Linked DNA regions of Homo sapiens: region 1 is linked to region 2. The links are contacts of gene promoters, found by promoter capture Hi-C in blood cells and fetal thymus (Javierre and others, 2016). All regions are on one chromosome and are shown on one strand. Each heading gives the region's core, a stretch centred on a gene start or on the middle of the fragment in contact. The rest is flanking DNA. Distances are from core to core; before and after follow the strand shown.

Region 1 (3,891 bases), core at 701-3,200, 210 kb after region 2:
GTTAGCTGTTATCATCCCTATTTTACAGTTTGGGAAACAGAAGCTTAAGTAACTTCCCTAAAGTCAAGTAGCAATTAAGTGACAAAGGCCAAGAACCACACTCTGCATAAATGGCTTTAAAGACAGTATCTGCACCCACTGAACACTACAGAAGGTATCTCTGTGCGCTACACTCCTATAAAATTTTGTCCATACAGTCAATATAGAACCTGTCACACCATCTGACAACTCCATATCCTATTGGGCCAAGAGCTCCCTGAAGAGTTTCTTTATTTCCAGGGCCTAGGACAGTGTTTAGGTATTAGCTAGTGATCAATAGGTATGTGTTGATTTCTGGTCCCTGTTTCTGTCAGTGCTAACATCCATGCATGCCAGGCACACAGAGATTCATTACTACAAACTAGAACCCTTCCTGTTCTCCCACACTATCGTGAATTGGTCCATATAACTCTTTTTTTTTTTTCTTGAGATGAAGTCTCGCTCTTGTCCCCCAGGCTGGAGTGCAATGGCGCGATCTCAGCTCACTGCAACCTCCGCCTCTGGGGTTCAAGTGATTCTCCTGCCTCAGCCTCCCAAGTAGCTGGGATTACAGGCGCCTGCCACCACGCCCTGCTAATTTTTTTATTTTTAGTAGAGATGGGGTTTCACCATGTTGGCCAGGCTGGTCTGGAACTCCTGACCTCAAGTGAGCTCCTGCCTCTGGCTCCCAAAGGGCTGGGATTACAGGTGTGAGGCACCACACCCGGCCTTTTAAATTTTATTTATTTATTTTTTTGAGACGCAGTCTGACTCTGTCACCCAGGCTGGAATGCAGTGGCGTGATCTCGGCTCTTTCCAACCTCCGCCTCTCAGGTTCAAGTGATACTCCTGCCTCAGCCTCCTGAGTAGCTGGGATTACAGGCCCGTGCCACCACGCCCTGCTAAGTTTTGTATTTTTAGTAGAGACAGGGTTTCACCATGTTGGCCAGATTGGTCTCAAACTCCTGACCTCATGTAATTCACCTGCCTCGGCCTCCCAAAGTGTTGGGATTACAGGTGTGAGCCACTGCACCTGGCCGGGTCCATATAACTACCTTAACAGTCTCTCTTTCTTTCTCTTTTTTTTTTAGATGGGGTCTCGCTCTATTACCCAGGCTGAAGGGCAGTGTCACAAATATGGTTTACTGCAGCCTCAACCTCCTGGGCTCAGGTGATCCTCCTGCCTCAGTCTCCAGTGTAGCCAGGACCACAGATATGTGCTACCATGCGCTGCTAAATTTTTGTTTTTTTTTTGTAGAGACAAGGTCCACTTTTTTGCCTAGGCTGGTTTCGAACTAGTGGCCTCAAGTGATCCTCCCACCTTGGCCTCCCAAAGTGCTGGGATTACAGGCATGAGCCACTGGGCCCAGCCCATTCTCTCTCTCTTTTTTTTTTTTTTTAAAGAGACAGGGTCTCGCTCTGTTGCCCAGCATGGAGTACAGTGGCACGATCCACGATCATGGCTCACTGCATCCTTGAATGCCCAGGTTCAGGGAATCCTCTCAGCTGGGATTACAGGGGCAGGCCACCAGGCCCAGCTAAATTCTCTAATTTCAGTGATTTGTGTACTTGCTCCTTTAGACTGGTAGCTCTCCAAGGACAAATCTTGCAGGTGTTTCAACTTTTTATCCCCAACTCTTGGCTTAGCACTAAGATGCTAATAAATGTGAATTAATGCATAAACCACAGTTACCCCCACCATCATTGGCAGAGGGGCTGAAGACACCTCCAGACACTCTCTCCACCCCAAAACCAAGCCCGCCCAGAGAGCGGATACTGGGATCTTGCTCCTAGGGCCTGGGAACCTGGAAACACAGCTCCAGCCAGGGGCCCACCAGGATGGGAAACAGGGCTTGTTCTTCAGCCTCTCCCTGAGCCTGGCCTCTATAGGGCTGCCGACCTGTCCGGAGTCTTTCTGGCCGCCTCTTTCTTTGTGTCTCTTTCTCTTTGTCTCTGCCCGTTTCGCTCACTATCGTCTTTTGTTCCTCTGCTTCTGGGCCTGTTACTCTCCAGGCTCCCAGCCTCTTACTGCTCCTCGGACTCTGCGTCAATGACTTTATCTCTTATCCGTTTCTACGTCTCTGTCTCTAGCGGCTAATCTTTGGCTCCCCTTATTTTTGGTCAGCCGCTGTCCCTCGGTCTCTCTCTGCCTTTGCGTCCTCTGTGACTCAGGGCTCTGATGTGAGTCTCTGGCTCAGGGTCTCTGTTCCGGGCCCCAGGTCTGATTCCATCTCTCCAGCAGCATTTACCCGGTGTCTGCCTCTAGCCTCTGCTCCTGCCTCGGTCTCCCCAGCCCAGCCCCCATTCCATACCCACCCCCACCCCGGGCCCTCGGCCTCTCGGACCAGCCCCGCTTTGTTTCCCACGTCTCGGCGCCCCGCCCCGCCCCGTCTGGGGTCTCCGCCGCCCTTTGTCTGCCTTGGTCTCTCCCCCACCCCTTTCCCCGGGTCCGTCTTTGGATCCCTCTTTCTTTGTCTCTCCCAGGTCGGAGTGGCTGGCGCTGTCGGCCGGCCGGGGAGGTCGGCGCGGGTGGCTGGAGACACACAGCCACAATTACGAAGAGCCTCGGGCCTCACCACCCAGCTGCAGCCCAGGAGGCACACGGTTAATACCACCGAGTTCGGGCCGCCGGCCTCGGCTTAGAGTAGCCCCTGGGCCGCACGCTGCCGCCCGCCGGCCACAGAGCTACCGCCGACGCGGGCGACCCCCACAGGCCCGCAGCTCCTCCAAGGTCCTAGAGCGGCTCCGTGCGGCCCCGCGCTTCCGCTTCCCGTCCCCGCCCCCGGTGGCCGCCCCCGGGACGCCTGGGTCCGAGCCCGCTCCCGGCTTGGCGCGGAGCCTGCATCCCGGAGCCGCTGGCGGCTCGGGCGCCTGCACCCCGCTGAGGAGCTCCGGAGGGCGCCGGGGTGGCGGAGCCGGAGGCGGCCGGCAAGGTGAGAGCGGCGGCTGCGCGCTGGGAGGAGCAGCAGGTGCAGGGGCGGCCGGCGGCGCGGGCAGGGGGCACCGGGAGCCGCGCCCGTACCTGGGACCCGACGCCGCCCGGTGCCCGCGCTGGCCGGCAGAGGGCAGCGGCAGGGCGCCGCGGGCCACACATGGCTGCGTGACCGCGGGATGCTGTCTGTCCCCTTGCTCAGGGCGGCGTGCCGGCGATGGAGCGCGCGGTAGAGCCTTGGGGCCCAGATCTCCACCGCCCGGAGGAGAGGGAGCCACAGAGAGGCGCCCGCACAGGTGAGGGCCTCGGCCGTGCGCCGCCACGGACAGGTAACGGCCGGTGGGGACTGCGATGCTTGGCTGTGGCCGGCCGAGATCCTGGAAGATCGGACGTGAGCTGTGCCTCTGGGGAGATAGGGGGAGGGGAGCTTTCGGAGCACCAACTGTGCGCCAGGCCGGGAGGGGCTCTTCACGGCCTCTGTCCCCTCCCTCACGGCCTTCCTCATCCTTACTGCCTCTGCCCTACTTCAGGCTTCATTCTGTTTTATCCTGGCAATTGCAGTAGCCTCCTCTCTGCCCCTTTCTCTCCACTGATGCATTCTCTCGCCAGCTTGATCTAAGTCCAGATATAATCCTGTGTCTCTTCTGGAAAACCTTCCCTAGCGTCCCCCAGTCTCCTAATTAAAAGCCTTAGCTAGTGTCCAATCCAAACCGTGCGTGCTCAGGTTAGTCCCAACATCCTTTGACACCTTATCTTCCATTCCACTCCATTATTTTCTCTTCGCTCTGCCGTAATGCCGGTTCCTATTTCCTTATCTCCTATCTCTCTTGTGACAACATAGTTATTCTAGTTATTCTGCACCCACAATTATAACCATTGATACTTTAATCTTATCTCTCCTACCACCCTAAGCTTCTTGAGGAAGGGATGTGTGCCTGGGT
Region 2 (3,726 bases), core at 585-3,084:
GCCACGATCTCGGCTCACTGCAACCTCCGCCTCCTGGGTTCACACCATTCTCCTGCCTCAGCCTCCCAAGTAGCTGGGACTACAGGCGCCTGCCACCATGCCTGGCTAATTTTTTGTATTTTTAGTAGAGAGGGGGTTTCACCATGTTAGCCAGGATGGTCTCCATCTCCTGACCTCGTGATCTGCCCGCCTTGGCCTCCCAAAGTGCTGGGATTACAGGCGTGAGGCACTGCGCCCGGCCAGAGCCTCATAACTTTGTGAGGTGGGCAGTTCAAATCTTATTAATTCCCCATTTACCAATGACAAAATGAGGTTCAGAGAGATTAGCCCTCTTGGCCAAGATCGCACAGCCAGTCAGTGGCAGAGGTGGGACTTGAACCCGTCCCTTGCTGTTCCTTGAACTTCTCCACACGACAGGGCTGTCCCTCAGCCTACAGGTCACCCCTCTAGCCTTGCCTGTTGGCTCTTCCTAATCCTTTCAGGCCCAGCCCAGATACTTTTTAAACAAGAATGATGAGAGCTAACTTTTTTTAAAATGAGACGGTCTTGCTCTTTCACCCAGAGAAGACTGGGTGATAACAGTGGCTCAATCTTGGCTCACTGCAGCCTCTGCCTCCAGGGTTCAAGCTATTCTCATGCCTTAGCCTCCTCAGTAGCTGGGATTACAGGGGTGCATCACTACACCACGCTAATTTTTGTATTTTTAGTAGAGATGCGGTTTTACCATGTTGGCCAGGCTGGTCTCGAACTCCTGACCTCAGGTGATCCGCCAGCCTTGGCCTCCCAAAGTGCTGGGATTACAGGCGTGAGTCACTACGCATGGCTGAGAGCTAACGTTTATTAAGCACCCGCCACTTTCTAGATGAGGTCCTTACTGACTTCCTTGGGTTATTTTAGGTAATCATCCCCATACCTCTTACGTGGCAGGTATGACTGTTACAGAGGGAGAAACCGAGGCTGAGAAAGGCTAAGTAGCGGCCACACCTCACTCAGCAGGTGACAGGCTGCGGTCGCACTCATGACATAGTCTGACTCTAGAGCAGGCCTTTCCTGCCCGCTGTTGCTGCCTCCAGAAGCCTCTCTGAATCCAAGGGTGGGAACTATTCCTCCTTGCCCTCGAGCCTTCGCCAAAGCCAGGGCTTGGAGCGGCCGTGGGCTCCTCCTCCTTCCCCCAGGCTGGGCTCTTCAGGGGCGGAAACCTGCCTGGCTTGCCTGCCTTGCTCGACCCTGTAGCCCCTGGCACGAAGTAGGTGCCCGTGATGCCGGATTATTTCAGCAGGAGGGCAGGGGTGTTCCCGATGAAGCCAGGAGATCCAGGGAGGAGAAGCGACTCCCGGGGCCACCCATGCTTAGATCTCAGAGCCAGGCAAGAGCCAGGTCCCGGGGGTCCAGGAGCGCGCTCGGGGCTCCTCCTCGCCCGCGCCCCCCGCGCCCCTCGCGCCCCCCGCGCCCCCCGCGCCCCCTGCGCTCGCGTCTGCGGGGCCGGGAGGAAGGGGCGGCGCAGCCGGGCCGGGGCGGGCACCGAGGCCTGGCGGGCGGGCCTGGGGCGCTTTCGTGCCTGCCAGGGAAAGGCTGGCGAGGAGGCTGGGGGCGGACGCAGGGAGGAAAGAAGCAATGGGGTGCTCTTGCGTTTTGACATTTTAAAAAGAAGTTTAGATTCGCTTCCCGGAGCCGGGATGGCAGCCTGCGCTATGGTTGGGGACCAACGTGGTGCACGGGCAGGGGCCGGGGAGAGAGGCGGCCGCAGCGGGAGCCCGGGAGCGCAGGGCGGGCCTGGAAGAGCTCCGCCCCAAGGGGCGCGGCCACCCCGGAGGCGGGCGCACGGCTGCTTCTCATTCATTGTCTTGACAAGAGCATCTTCAGCGGGCGAGTCCCCGGCTCCTCCAGCTCCTTCCTCCTCTTCCTCCTCCTCCTCCACCTCCGGCTTTTGGGGGATCACTGTCCTCTCTCGGCAGCAGGTGAGGCTGGGCCTGGGAGGCGCGGGTGGGCCGGGGCGAGGGCCACCTGTGGGGCGGCGCGCGCGTGGGAGCCGCGGGCTGCGGGGGCGCGCGGCTGTCACCGCGACCCAGCCAGCGCCGGGGCCAGGTAGCGGGCGCAGCAGCCCGTGGGGGGACGCTGCTTGGAGTGGGGGCCGCCGGGGCCCCAGAGCGCTCTGCGGAGGCGAGGGCTAGGGACCACCGCGGCCAAGATGGAGGTGGGTGGCCGGGGGTCAGCACAGTGTCGAGGGCCCGACTCCCCACGGAATTGAGTCTCGGGGAGGGTGGGGACGAGGGCAGGGTGGGGTGAGCGGGGCAGCTGCCCTGGGCTTGGAGACAGGAAGGGGTTGAGAGCAAAACAAGAAAAGACCAAGTTCCCCTTTCCGTGGTTTCCGGGCCTGGTACCTGTGGTGGGGGAGGAGGCAGGGTGGGGCGATGGCTTCCTGTCCCCCACCTCTGGTCCGGGGCTCCCCTCTCTCCAGATACAGGCTGCTCCTCAAGACTGGGGCTCTTCACATACGCTCCTCACCGCTCTTTGGGCAGGCCGACCTAGCAGCCTCTTCGGGAGTCCTGGGGTGGCCGGGGGTGCTGGAGCCCCCAGTGAGTAGGCGAGGCTGAGGCTAGGGGCAGAGGCTCTGGGCATGGCACCCTCCAAGCGGCAGCACAGGCCCCTTCCCTGAGCAGGAAGGTGATGCGGTGGCACAAGGTCGCCCCTGGAGTTCCTTGCTCCCCACCCAGACACTGGGGGAAACCATCCTACCTGGACCTCAGAGCAGTCGGAGTGGCCTCTCCCTTCCTGTGTGCAGTTTACATGGGGGTGGAGATGGCTCTTAAGGGCACCTGCTTTTCTGAGCGGAGGCGAGAGGCAGAGGTATGGGGAGGAGGAGATACCTGGACCTGAGCCAGAGACCTGCTGGGGAAGCTATCCTGCCGCCTCACTCCCCTCAGGCAGCCCCCACGCCACTTCCTCCTGTGTCCAGCCCCATGCCAGCAGGCGAGGGAGGCCAGCTCCTGTCCCTGCCTTTAGGAAGCGCTGTGTGGGTGTGAGGGAGGTGGGCTCTGGACACGGTAACTAAGAGAGAACCCACCCTCGGAGCCATCTGGGCTGATGACGCCTGAGTCTGAACCATTAGGAAGGACGGGCTCTGCATCCATCAGCCAGTCAGTCAACAAACATGCAGTGGGGCAACACCACGCCAGGCTCTGTTGCAGAGGCTGAGGGTACAGATTGAGAGGGTGGCTCAGAGTGGCCTGGGGCCAGGGAGAAGGGGGCTTGCAGGTTAGAGGGAAGGAGAGGCTGGGGAAGGCAAGCAGGCATCAGCCACAGAGGGAAGAATAGGGAGCCCCTGGAGATGATGCTGGGACCTTAAAAGCCAGACTGAGGGGTGTCCTGGGGGAGGTGGGGACCACTGGAAGATCAGAGTTGACCTGAAGGGAGAAATGCTCTTATGCTGTGTGCCCCCAGAATGAGCCGGCAGGTGGTCCGCTCCAGCAAGTTCCGCCACGTGTTTGGACAGCCGGCCAAGGCCGACCAGTGCTATGAAGATGTGCGCGTCTCACAGACCACCTGGGACAGTGGCTTCTGTGCTGTCAACCCTAAGTTTGTGGCCCTGATCTGTGAGGCCAGCGGGGGAGGGGCCTTCCTGGTGCTGCCCCTGGGCAAGGTGAGCCCCTGGGGCCCTGGGGGGAGCAGCTCCTCCACCGGACCCATGGCTCTGTGCAGGTCCTGATTAGGTGACGGTCACCAGGC

The links. Contacts are between HindIII fragments. The CHiCAGO score rates a contact against its expected background, and 5 or more counts as called.
Region 1: a fragment that was not itself captured here is called in contact with the fragment with the promoter of CORO1A in region 2 in 1 of 17 cell types (fetal thymus); the score reaches 5.7 in fetal thymus.

What each region holds. Positions count from the first base shown.
Region 1 is chr16:30,392,628-30,396,518 of GRCh38, forward strand. It overlaps ZNF48 (zinc finger protein 48), which reads left to right and starts at 2,793. Exons shown (of 3, transcript NM_001214909.2): 1 at 2,793-2,951; 2 at 3,153-3,246. The coding sequence starts at 3,168. RefSeq lists enhancers at 713-1,213, 3,215-3,811 and silencers at 2,705-2,894, 2,985-3,244. The HindIII fragment of the contact is 3,819 bases long and covers 42-3,860 here.
Region 2 is chr16:30,181,768-30,185,493 of GRCh38, forward strand. CORO1A (coronin 1A) reads left to right here and starts at 1,835. Exons shown (of 11, transcript NM_007074.4): 1 at 1,835-1,958; 2 at 3,442-3,640. The coding sequence starts at 3,443. It overlaps CORO1A-AS1 (CORO1A antisense RNA 1), which reads right to left and starts at 3,021. Exons shown (of 2, transcript NR_186359.1): 1 at 2,737-3,021; 2 at 1,626-2,004. RefSeq lists enhancers at 588-697, 2,116-2,656, 2,657-3,198, 3,199-3,726 and silencers at 1,418-1,527, 1,668-2,127, 2,158-2,267, 3,638-3,726. The HindIII fragment of the contact is 25,461 bases long and covers 1-3,726 here.